3 separate regions of the Homo sapiens genome follow, and regions 1 and 2 are each linked to region 3. Evidence: promoter capture Hi-C in 16 types of primary human blood cells and fetal thymus (Javierre and others, 2016). All regions are on one chromosome and are shown on one strand. Each heading gives the region's core, a stretch centred on a gene start or on the middle of the fragment in contact. The rest is flanking DNA. Distances are from core to core; before and after follow the strand shown. Region 1 has its middle 84 kb from the start of RGS4. Region 2 has its middle 100 kb from the start of CCDC190. Region 3 holds the start of RGS4 (regulator of G protein signaling 4).

Region 1 (4,008 bases), core at 1,293-3,792, 85 kb after region 3:
GAGGTAAAGATGGAGAAAGACAGAGGAGATGGTACAGAATCTTTTTCTACATTTCTTCATCCATGAGAATGCATACCTTGACCTCACCATCCCAAATGCTAATATTTGCTGTTTTACAGTTAAGAGATATTACTAGCAGAAAGGAGATACTCTAGCAAGACCTATTCTTATGTTTCCATTTTGCAGGAGGCCGAGAAGAAGGAAGTGATTCCAGAAAGGTATCACCATTCCTCAGTTACGAAACCCAAGTGAGACCACAATATCCTGACTTCCAGTCTAGAGCTATCTGTAATGCAATAAATCTCTTCACAGGAGCATATACACTGGGAACGGGAACTCTCACAGGTAAGAAAATCCTTCAAGCTCCAAATAAATGAAATAGAAAATTTGCATGCTCAATAAGTGACAGGATAATGAAGAAACAGTTGTATTCTGTCTATACTAACACAACTTAGCAGCTTTCCAAAGTGATGGTGAAATGGCGGCAAGGTTCTGGAATAAAAAATGTATATTTTTATAAGACTAAAATATGTCTGGCCGGAACTAAAAAGCAGCATTGCAACTCCCATAAAGAGGGAATTTCATACAAGGTGAGTAGGGTGAAAGTGGGGGTGAAATGACAGATTGTGCGGCCAACTACTTATTTCTACTTGAGGATGGCCTTAACTACTCCCTCTCCAAAACTAAACCTGTTCAGTGTATCAGTAAAGCTAAATTGATCTGAGTTGCTATGGGAACACAGAAAGGAGTTCCTGGAAATGTAATAATAATTGCTGTCATCTAAAAGGGCAGTAGCTTTCTACTTCAATATCCTCCCATATGTCTGCATTAAGCTGACATTAGCAAATGGGTGTCAAAAGTCATTTGCATGCTAATTGCTAGGAGGATAACTTGCAGTGTTGGGTGCTGCTCTACTGAGCTGATTTGCTAAAGGAAAAGTTTTTCATTGTTTTTCCAGATTCAAATTCTTTTTGCATGGTATGGTTTGGCTGCCTGGGAAAGAATCCAAATGTTACCTCTCTCACAAGACACACATCTCAGGGCCCACGTAGGTCAGGGTAAGAGCTACACATTTGCATGTGGTCAGTGTATAGAGCTTGGTTTCTTAAGCTTGACAAACATCTGACAAACATTGGAAACTTCATAAGCATCTTTACTTGGTGAATTATTTGTGTTTTAGAGGAGGTAGTAGGGAAATGGAGTGTTCATGATTTCGAGAGTCAAAGAATGGAATCAGAATCACGAACCTGAAAGATGGCCTAAGGGAATCTGCTGGTTGGTCCCTTGCTACTCAAAGTATGATCCACTCATCAGCAGCACTGGCATAATCTAGAAGCTTGCCAGTGATGCAGAATTTCAGACCCTGCCCTAGACCTAATATATCAGAATCTACACTTTAACAAGATCCCTAGGTGATTTGTTTGCACATTGAAGTTTGAGAAGCATTAGTGTGGTCTAATGCTTTTACAAATAAGATGACTGAAGCCTGGAGAAGAGAAGTGACTTGCTAATGTCTTGTTGAAGATTAATAATAGCACCAGAACAAAACTCCAGTGTCTCTGAGAGTAAGACTTCTGCCATTACTCCACGTAGGCTCTCAGTAGCTGTGGTTGGGGCACGATGTTAGAAGTGGCATCCAAGACTTTCTGACTTTGTCCCTAGTTTTATGCCATCCCAAGCACTGTCCCTTTTCCAATTTCAAATTTGCACGTATTGCTGGCCCTGGTAATGTGCTCAGATTGGCCAATTTGAGTGCCAGTTTTGGGAGTGCTCCATTGTCCTGCAAAAGTAGCTGATGATAGTTGCATTCCAAATGAAAGAATAGATCTCTAGTCTTTACCTTTCCTGTATCCTCTTTCAAGGCCTCCAACAGGGGCAATCAATATGTCTTTGTGAATTACTCCAAAGAGGAATGTTTCTCCCATTTTCTAAAAGCTAGAAGCAAGGTCTTTTTCTGATAATTATAGGAATAAACAAGTGAGAACCAATAGGGAACCCAAAGAAGTATCAGATGCTTCCTTCCTCCCCAGTGCTCATAAAGCAAAGCTCTCCCTAGGCTAGAGCAAGCCTGGGTCCGTGTTCCATGTTTCACATATGAATCAGTGTAGACTGTGATTGTTTTTGCATCTCCCTTAATACCCTTTACTCCACCTCACCCAAAAGATAAGCCTATTAGAAAGTGACGTACATCCTGCTTCCAGATACAAGAGATGCCTGAGAACACAGTAATTTCCTGTAACTCTTAAAGCCTAGGATGAACTTGGCATGCCTCATTTCTACTATCCTACTTCTCACATAAATTTCTGTGTTGACTCTTCTAGGCCCATTAATCTTCACATTATTTTTGGAACATAATTCATTTAATTCCCAATTTCTTATTTTTGTTCTAGCCATTTGTTTCTGACATCTACTGCTGCATAACAAATCACACCCAAAACTTAGTGGCTTAACACAAGAATAGTTTTTATTATCTCTCATGATTTTATGAATTGACTGGGTGTCCAGCTGGACATTTCTTCTCCACATGGAGTCTGCCGGGGCTATAGTTATCTGGGGACGTCACTGGTGGGAACACTTAAGATGGCTCATTCACATGCCTTGGCAGGGCTGGGTTCATCTGGGTTGTTGGTAGGACTGAGTCTCTCTCTTTCTCTCTTAACTTGGCCTCTCTAGATGTTCTCTCTAGTAAGGTAGACTTCTTATATGGCAGCTTAGGGCTCCCAAAACCACAAAAGCACAGTTTCTGCACCTTATTATGGCTTCAGTCCTGAACAGGCACCATATTAACTCCACCATTATTGTTGGTTAAAGTGAGTCACAAGAGAAGCCCAGAGACTACCAACCACAGGATTCTCAAAGAGCTTGCAGGGAAAACCAAATTTCCTTCTTTTTGCTAATCATTGTCTCTTATCTGCTCCAAAACCAGGGGAGTTCTTAATCTAGAAGTCTGTAAGTACATTTCAAGAGAGTCTATCAATATCTAAAAATTGTATTTTTACACATATTTTGAGTCGTAATGCATAGGTGGTGCACTTTTCTAGGTAAAGGATCCCTAGAATTATTGTGCTAAACAATTCTAAAAATGAGATTCTCAAAGGGTGGGTCTATGACCCAAAGAAGGCTGCAACGTTGGAATGAATGAATCACACCTGATTCTACATGCCATCTGCCCAATAATTATGTGTTGTTGTAGGTCTTTTGAAGATACATGATATGTGCTTATAATGCCTCCCACCAACTAGTTTTGAAATTCTGCTAAGGCAAGAGTCATATCTCTTCTTTATCTCAAGACTCCCTAGTTTTTAGCACTGTCTTTTAAATAATATTAATATACGCTGCATAATACATGTAGACTGATTTCCTATGAAGGGTTTATCTGAGTCTTTGTGTAAGAAGAACATAGACACAATAACCATGACTAGCATCATTCTTACCATACATTTTCTCACCCCTTTCAGTTTAAAATGCTTTCATGTGTCTTATTTGATACTTATCTAATATGAGTCTATAAGGTCAGCAGAACAGATGTTATCATGATATTATTTTTTGTGCTAAGGAAACTGAAGTTTGCATAATCTCTCTCAAAGATTTAGAGCTAGTTAGAGAAGGAACTAGGGCTGAAGTCCAATACTTCTGATTTCCACTGACCCTGGCTGTGTAGCATGAGCCACTGCGATGAGAAGGAGTGAGCACAGCGAGATAGATGTGAAAAACCAGAAGAGCAAAAAGAATAAGAATTCAAGCTTTAGCATGCATCAGGATTACTTGGAGGGCCTGTTAAGCTACAGATTGTTGGCCCCACCAACAGAGTTTCTGACTCACTAGGTGGGGACAGAGAGTTTACATTTTTAATAAGTTCCTAGGTAATGCTGATGCTGCTGGTCTGGTCTGGGGACCACATTTTGAGAGCCACTGGTCTAATCTGTAGTCACATATGATAAGAGAAACTTCCCTGAGCCTAGTGCTTCCATTAATATGAATTCATTGATGGTCCGAATATGGTTGTCA
Region 2 (4,320 bases), core at 810-3,309, 110 kb after region 3:
TAAAGTAATGCAGTCACTTGAATATAAATCTCTTCAGAAATATATAACATAATGTTATATCCATAACAAATCGACTTCAGAGAGACTACAGATTAATAGTTAAAAGTGGGCCAGGTGTGGTGGCTCACGCCTGTAATCCCAGCATTTTGGGAGGCAGAGGTGGGTGGATCACGAGGTCAGGAGATCGAGACCATCCTGGCTAACACAGTGAAACCCTGTCTCTACTAAAAATACAAAAAAATTAGCTGGGCATGGTGGCAGGCGCCTGTGGTCCCAGCTACTCAGGAGTCTGAAGCAGGAGAATGGCATGAACCCGGGAGGCAGAGCTTGCAGTGAGCCGAGATCACGCCACTGCACTCCAGCCTGGGCGACAGAGCGAGACTCTGTCTCAAAAAAAAAAAAAAGAAAAGTGAAAGAAAAATCTCAATAGACAGATAAACAGTGAATTAGAGGACTAGAACATCAAGTAAGGATAATCTCTTAAAACACAGCACAATAAAGAGATGGAAAAAAAAGACGAAAAGTGCAAACATGAACCAAACCAAGCAAATTAGAATTCTTACTGAGACTTTTCTAGTGGACCATGTAAGGAGAGAAATTCTTTGGGTTTTGGATATTCAGGAGGATGAAATAGCTGCCCACTGTTGTTTGGCCCACCACGTAGAAGATGAAGTAGAGCAAGTAAAAGGAGGACTAAGCAATAAAAAGAGACAACACTATAACCATCCAACAGGTTCATTTTGCAAGCTGCCTGGATAGAGCCAATTTATCCAGACAGAAGAAACGCAATAGAGAAAGAGTTTAATTCATGCAGAGCCAGGTGAATGGGTGGCCAGAGTTTCATGACTCAAATCAGTCTCTCTGAAAATCCAGAGGCTATGTTTTTCACAAATAGTTTGGCAGCCCAGGGAATGGGTACTGCTGATTGGTTGGGGGTGCAATCATAGGGGTGCGGAAAATGGTCCTTATGGGTGCCTGAGTCCACTTCTGGGTGGGGCCATGGGACTAGCTGATGGGTCCAGGTAAAGGCATTGGTCATCAGAAATGCAAAAACCTGAAAAGGACATCTCAAAAGGCCAATAGTGATATTATCTGCAGGAGTAATTGGGGAAGTTGCAAATCTTGTGACTTCCAGAATAAAGTCTGGTAGTCATTTATATCTACATCTTAGCAGAATTCAGGCTCTTCTCATCCTCCCAACCTGGTGGTCTTTCATTAGCTTTTCAAAGTTGGTTAATTTTGAGGACAGGCTTTCATCATTTAAATTATAAACTAAATGTCTCCCCAAGTTAGCTTGGCCAAAGCCCAGGAATGATGAGGAGCAGTTTGGAGCCTAAAAGCAAGAGATGGGTGTTGGTTAGATCAGATTTTTTTCACTGTCATAATTTTCTCACAGTTATCATTTTTGCAAAGGCAGTTTCAATGCTACAATTCCATTTCTTACAATAATGCAGTAGCAGAGACTGGGTTTATCCTCCACATACAACAATAGAAAATGAAGCAGACTATATGAAATAATTATTTTTAAATGCTGAAACATAAGCAGGAAAGGTCTCTTATCTCTAAGAGGAAAACAACTAGAAGCATTTTTGAGGTTGCCATACAGAAAGGAAAAACTCAAAGCCCAGCACTCCTACTAAGTTAAGGAGACAGAGATGGGAGTTCAAGGAGACCAGGTCAGCTAGATTTAATGAAAAAGAATATCATAAATAAGGGAGATGCACAGAAAGAAAGCTTCACAGATCTGTAGAAAAGTCTCCTTGGCACTTTGGTTGAGTACTTATCTCTACATGAGTGAGAAGAAACTTCCCAAGGTTAGGGAAACAGCAATGGAAAAAACAGTCCACTAGATAATTTCCATACGTCACACAGGGCCAGGATTGGTTTATGTTCCCAAAAGCTAGAGTGAAATGACCTCATAAGACAAGTGGCATCCAGTAGTCTTTAGAAGATAGTGGCTTTATTAATAGTGTTAGATTTTCCCTAGAATGATAACAGAAGTGAGGGACTGAGGGAAAGATCTCAATCAATTGAGGTTTATTGAGCCAGCTTAAGGGCATGTCTGGGAAAAATATGAGATGCATCTGTGGCTTTTTTTCTGAAGAGATTTGTCAGGAGGTTTAATATTTATACATTCCCTTAAAGGGTGAGGAGAGGCAAGTAGGAAGATGGGCAAGTAGGCAATAAGGTGAATAGTTACAATCTTGTGGGACTTTAGCTGGTGCCCAGTAAATCTACATTTTACATAAGGTAAGGTAAATGTTTTAAGATTAAAAAAAAAAAAAGGAGTAAAGGAAGAATCAATTATGTAGACATCTCCAGGTGGGTTGAGAAATTATTAATCTTGGTTTGTCTTTGTTCTACCCCTGGGAAGATAAGCTTAAAATCAACATCACCAGTGTGTAATGGAACAGACTTTTGTTTTTGAAGCTAGGCTTAGTTTATAGACCTAAAGTTACTATGTCCTTGGCATGTCCTTTTTTATGGGGGGCAAGCAAAGAATTTACTTATGAATGATCTGTGGGGGCAGTCATTTGTAGATGCCTGAGGCCTTCTATATTTCCATGGGGATCTGGCTGATGCATAATGCTAGTAACAGCTATTGATTTGGAAGAGGGTGTTGCATGACTCAAGCCTCCAGACTTAATCTTTCCGTTGGCATAAAGAGTTTGAGGAGCCTGAGATTTTGCATTTTTCTTTGCAAGACCAAAGGCAACTCTGGAAATGCTCTAACAAAGGTTAGAAGTAACTTTGAAAAAATACAACTGACTCCAGGTAACGTAAACAAATGCCATTACACATTCCAACTCTATTTAAAAGAATACAACAAAATTCAGCACATAGTGACATAAAATTCACAATGTCCAGCATCCAGTAAAAAGTTGCCAGACATATAAAAGAAAAATGTGACCCATAAGCAAAGAAAAAATAATCAATTACAAGAAACATAAATGACAGAATTGATGGAATTAACAATCAAAGACATTGAAACAGCTATTTTAAATATACTCTATGAAGGGGTGGCAAACTTTCTGCAAAGGTCACATTATTGGATAAAGGACAGATATTATTAGATTTGAAAGTTATGTGGTATCTATCAGAACTGTCCAACTTTGCCACCGTAATGCAAAAGCAGCCATTGACCAGGCACGAATATCCACACCAAAAACTGCAAACAACCCAATCATTGATGAGTGATTGGATAAATAACTGTGGTATATCCATGCAGTGGAATACTCCTCAACAATAAAAATAAAGAAACCACTTAAATACATAACAAAAGTCATGAATCTCAAAGCATTATGCTAAGTGAAAAAAAGCTAGTTTCAAAATGTTACATAGTATATAATTGCCTTTATGTAGAATTTTAGAAAAGGCAAAACTCTAGTGACAGAAAGTATACCTGTGGTTGTCAAGGATTAGGGATGAGAGGAGAGGATTGACTCCAAAGAGGCATGAGGGAACATTTTGGAATGATGGAAATGTTCTATATCATGACTGGTGATAATTACAAAGTTGTTTAAATTTTTTGAAATTCCTTAAACTGCATATTTAAAAGGTATATATTTATAAAGTAGATTTTAAAGGAACTAAGTATAAAAATGGAAATTAACCATTCGAGAATTGAAGTACAAAGTTGGGCTTTACAGTTGAATTAAAAAAACACAATGGACATAAGCTAGAAGATAATATAATGAAACTCTCCCCCCAAAACTGCATAACACTCAAAGACTAGAAAGTATGGTAGAATCAGGAAATGTTCAGTATAGACCTAAAAATTCCACCTTATTTCAGAAGGTGCTAACAGAGAAAAGAGAGAACAGGAAATGATACTGTAATTCTGATCGTGTATCTTATTATTTTGATTAGCTTCTTCCTTTAAATAACGAAAGGCTGAATAAGAAAACTTAAAAGACTCGGCTGGGTGCAGTGGCTCATGCCTGTAATCCCAGCACTTCGGGAGGCCGACACTGGTGGATCACGAGGTCAGGAGATCGTAGCCATCCTGGCCAACACGGTGAAACCCCGTCTCTACTAAAAATACAAAAAGAAATTAGCTGGGCGTGGTGGCGGGAGCCTGTAGTCCCAGCTACTTGGGAGGCTGAGGCAGGAGAATGGCGTGAACCCGGGAGGTGGAGCTTGCAGTGAGCAGAGATCGCGCCACTGTACTCCAGCCTGGGCAACAGAGCAAGACTCCATCTCAAAAAAGAAAAAAAAAACAAAAAAAAAAAACTTAAAAGACTCTAGGCTGACCCAGGCCTACAAAAAAACAAAAGGAAGAAAGAAAACTTAAAAAACAAGACATATACTAGTGGGAAC
Region 3 (4,278 bases), core at 284-2,783:
AGCCTCAGGCACTGGTGGTAAAGATGTTGGACTAGATGATTTGCAATTTATTGAGGAGGAAAGGGAAGAGCAGTTCATCCTGCTGACATAGAGTTTACCTCCTTAGATTAGCTGCTTAACTCTTTGAGGACAGAGCTCTAGTATTATCTTTTATCTGTTTTGCAAAATATTTACCAGAGCATAACTTTCTCCTGACACTCTTGTATTTTTGTACGGTTCATTTCATATGCAAGTTAAGTGAAGCTTGAAGTAATTTGCTCCACTCCATTCAGAAAATTAAGCGTGAAGGTCAGAGGAACTTATTTCATAGATACTCTCTGCCAGACCCTCCTGCTTCATTTTAAAGAAGCCATCGATACTTCCATACTCCTGAATGACAGAATATTTGGAAAGTAAATGTTTTAATAGTACATAAAAAATTATGTTTTCTGAGATTATTTCCAAAATAAAATTTGTGGTAATTTCTATTTGCAGTGCGATAAGAAAGCAGGTAGTATACCTTTAGGTTGACTTTTTACCTTTGACTGCAAGATTAAGTAATGTAATATGCACTCATTTTGTGTTTAATTTTCAACTGGCTAATATATGATCTTTCTCTGAATGCATTTCTTTATACCTTTTTTGAACAAACCAAAAACAAATGAATAGCTGTATGTCTGTAAGGTCTTTTAAAAAAATCAAGGGAGTATATTAACAAAACAATGTCTTTAAGATGAGATCTTCTACAAAACTATTAACTGATTTGTAATGATCAATATTTCTCAACCAAACTCATATGAGACACTTCAAGAACTAGAGATGGGGCAGAGAGATAAGGAAGATCTGGCTTTAAAACTCATATCTCATTGTAACATTTGCTTATAAGAACATAGAGAGTGAAAGTTACTGCACCACCACACGGAAAGCATAGTGCCTTTCTGATGATGGAGCCAAACCTCATTCTGGGGTACCTTTCCTGAAACAAGTTGTAGCATACAATCAGAAAGCCCAGAGCCAGGCTTCTATGTACTCCAGGGATGCTCAAATAGCAGTAGTAATCACAGATGGAGATATTACAGATCACTGTACATAGCCTCAAACCTCATCTCGCTTCTTAATTAAAACTAGCTTTCTTAGACCTGGCTTAAAGAATAGAACAGTTCTCAAAACTGAGGTCACACAAAACAACACATAAGGGCTGAAATTTGGGGAGCACATGTCTTAAGTCACAATATCTAGCTAGTCTTGGAGGAAAGTTAGAAAGTCGTGCTCTCCTGACCACACTGTTTCTAATTGCACAGAACTAGGTTAGTAAGTACAACATGTAAATAACTGAGAAAGTCTAGCCAAAAGTTTAATATGGTTAATGGCTGAAAGCAATCTTACCTCCTCAAGCAAGAAGCCGGCAGACCTGCAAGCCCTTTGCACATCTTATTTAACAGCTTGGAATTCGCAAGCAGGAAAGAAATGCGGCAGGAGGAGCTGTGGCTTCGGCTTTGAGCGTACTTTGCCTCTTCTCCGGTAAAGATATTGTCAGAATCCTCTGAGCGTCTTCCTGCTAAGCCTGTAGGGGTCTCTTTTATAGCCCAGCTACGACCGTCCAGCCAATCAGACGACCGCTCTGCAGTACCAGCTCCTCTGTCTCCCTCTGCCTCTCCAGCCCCTGAAAGAGATGAGGAAGAAAAGACTGACGCATCAGCAATGTTAAGTGAACGAGCAGAGAAAATCCTTCTGAAAAGTAGGGATATGGGAAAAAATGTACTCAATGTCTCCACCAATGTCAGAGGTTTAGAATTTCTAGAAAAGGAAAAAAAGTGTACAATGCTGCAAAATATAGTTTTTATTCATATGCCTGTAAAAAAAAAATATCAAGGAAGTTGCTTCCTGGAAGGAAAAGTACCAGCAGGAATTCTGGAGCTTACTTAGGAGCTGACTCCCAATGCCTTTCCTCTTTTGGATTAGAAGCATCATATTATACATGGTCCAAGATCTGATCCTCACGATTTCCAAAAGGGAGCTGGCAGGATCATCGTCTCCACGCAGTGATTTGCGGAAGTTGCCTTGGTTGTTATGCAAACAAGAAGGTGGAGAGAAATAGCTGGATGACAGACAGTTATAAGCCCGGCAGCATACAGAAACTACCCTAGGAAAAATAGATTTGCTATATCTGTAATCAACCTGACTGAGGAATACTTTTCTAGAAATCTTGGTAACAACAGAATTCAGCCTAGCACTGACAGTTTCTCCTTCACATGCCTGCGTCCTGTAAAAAGTCTAAACCGGCAGCTCGAGGACCAAAGGAGGGAGTAGATGAGCAAATATACACAGCAATTCTTATATCAAATGGGTTTATGTCTTATGTAATTCTAAGTCTCCAAACTGATATTTCAAAAGATAAAGAAAGAGAGATGTAGAGAGAAAGAGAGAGAGCAGGCAGAAAAATATGTAGTTTGCTTTGCGTATCACCAGCCTTCAAACTGATTGTAAGAATATTAAGCCCTATAGGTGTTTCTGAACACCTAGACAATCAGTATCTTTTACATACAATATCATGAACTGAAATGCCTGCATGGACAGAATCATTCAGGTGTTTCACATCTTATAGCCATAAACCAAATACCTACACCAGAGTTACAGAGGAAAGCTATAAGTGGAAGAAGGGAATTAATTGCTAGATCTGACCAAAACAGCTTTCATTTAGAAAGCAGATAGGTTCCTGATCATAGGCTACAGTGAGCTATACTTTATATATAAGAAACAGAGGCATCAAATAGTTTAGGTGGAAGAGATGAAAAATAGTTGGGTTCCAGTGAGATGCAAAATACCAAAAATATAGAAAGAATGGCACAAAGCAATGCCCATATGTGGCCCTACCCAATACGTGCCCTTGAACATCCCACACTGCCCCCACTACCAACACGTTCCATGACTAGCAGAGCAAGGAGACAGCAGACAAATGTAAAGTGGTGGAGGGACCATAATCTACAGAAGATGCATTTAAATTATAGGAAAAAGTCTCTAGCCGCCCATAAGAGGGCATTTATTGGATTAGCTACTGGGCAACTTTTCCTTGAATTATAACATAGAACAAATGAATGTTGACAGCCATCCTTGATGGTGGTGTGGAAGGAACTGAAGTGCAATATGAAACTAGGAAGGCCCTCAGACCAAGGAAGATGGACCAGGGAAATGAATCAGTCAGAACTGACATTAAAGAGGTCAGACTAATTAAAAGGGAAAGAAGGTCACTCAAAGAAAGACCATGGCCTTCTTTGTTTACCTGGGCACCTAAAAGAGTGATCACTCAAATAGATTGATTTCAGGAACATAAGTGAGTACCCAAAAAGATTTACTGATGCCTGAAATTCCACAATAAAAGTTTTATGTCTTGCACTTAGAATAAGAGAAGCCTGATTTGTCATGAGTTAAATATAAATCACTGCAATAGATGGGACTTTAAAGACAAAATGGGACTTCAAAGGCAATCTAGCCTAACACTCTCATTTCACCAAAAAGGAAATAGAGACCCAGAAAGAGAAAGTGACTTGCTGAGGTTACAGCTTCTTACTAACAGAGCTGGGTCCAGATACAGGTGTCTCGATACTCAGTTATGTGGATTGTCCACCATGCTATCCCATCACTCAACAGTCTTATCAAATAAGGTAAACTGTGTAAATAGAGATATTTCTAAACTACAAAGTGCTAGTCAAATAATTTTTATCATTCTATTATACACAGTATAGAACATAACCCAAAATTAATTTTACACATTTTATTCAAGGAGTGTTCACTTGCCCAATTTGTTCTTGCTCCTTGAAAGCAGGAGCTGCTGCTTTCAAGACATATTAACTAACATGTCTCTAACTTTGTGCTTAGCTCATTACTCTGTTCAGGCATTTCATGTTTACTCACTTCTTTGACTATTAAATCTTGCTTTCTTAGGAGTTTTAAGACTTTTAAAAAAGTGTTTGTAAAACGCTTCACATGAGTTAACTTACTTTTTCACTGTGGGACTTGCAGATTGTGTTTGAGGAGGCGAGGACTGGTACATCATGATACCTTGACAACCTTCCACCTTCTTTCTCTGATATGCACAAAGCATCAAATTCTGTTATTCTATGATTTGTCATTCCTGAATGACTCTGGTAGTGTGGAAGAGCTTTACTCTCAAAAGATCTACTTTTTATTTGTTCATTTGTTTAAGAAATATCTTTTGACCACCTACTCTGTATCAGGTGCTGTTTGAAGCAGTACCTGATACAAGCAGATAAAATCTCCGCTCTAGTAGAGTTTTCATCT

What was found. Contacts are between HindIII fragments. The CHiCAGO score rates a contact against its expected background, and 5 or more counts as called.
Region 1: a contact is called between a fragment that was not itself captured here and the fragment with the promoter of RGS4 in region 3, in 1 of 17 cell types (endothelial precursors). The highest score is 6.8, in endothelial precursors.
Region 2: a contact is called between a fragment that was not itself captured here and the fragment with the promoter of RGS4 in region 3, in 1 of 17 cell types (endothelial precursors). The highest score is 5.2, in endothelial precursors.

The regions. Positions count from the first base shown.
Region 1 is chr1:162,983,043-162,987,050 of GRCh38, reverse strand. No RefSeq gene overlaps it. Among named protein-coding and RNA genes, the nearest start is that of RGS4, 84 kb to the left of the region's middle. The HindIII fragment of the contact is 2,407 bases long and covers 1,339-3,745 here.
Region 2 is chr1:162,959,729-162,964,048 of GRCh38, reverse strand. No RefSeq gene overlaps it. Among named protein-coding and RNA genes, the nearest start is that of CCDC190, 100 kb to the right of the region's middle. The HindIII fragment of the contact is 645 bases long and covers 1,737-2,381 here.
Region 3 is chr1:163,066,616-163,070,893 of GRCh38, reverse strand. RGS4 (regulator of G protein signaling 4) reads right to left here and starts at 1,533. Exons shown (of 5, transcript NM_005613.6): 1 at 1,366-1,533. The coding sequence starts at 1,409. The HindIII fragment of the contact is 6,604 bases long and covers 246-4,278 here.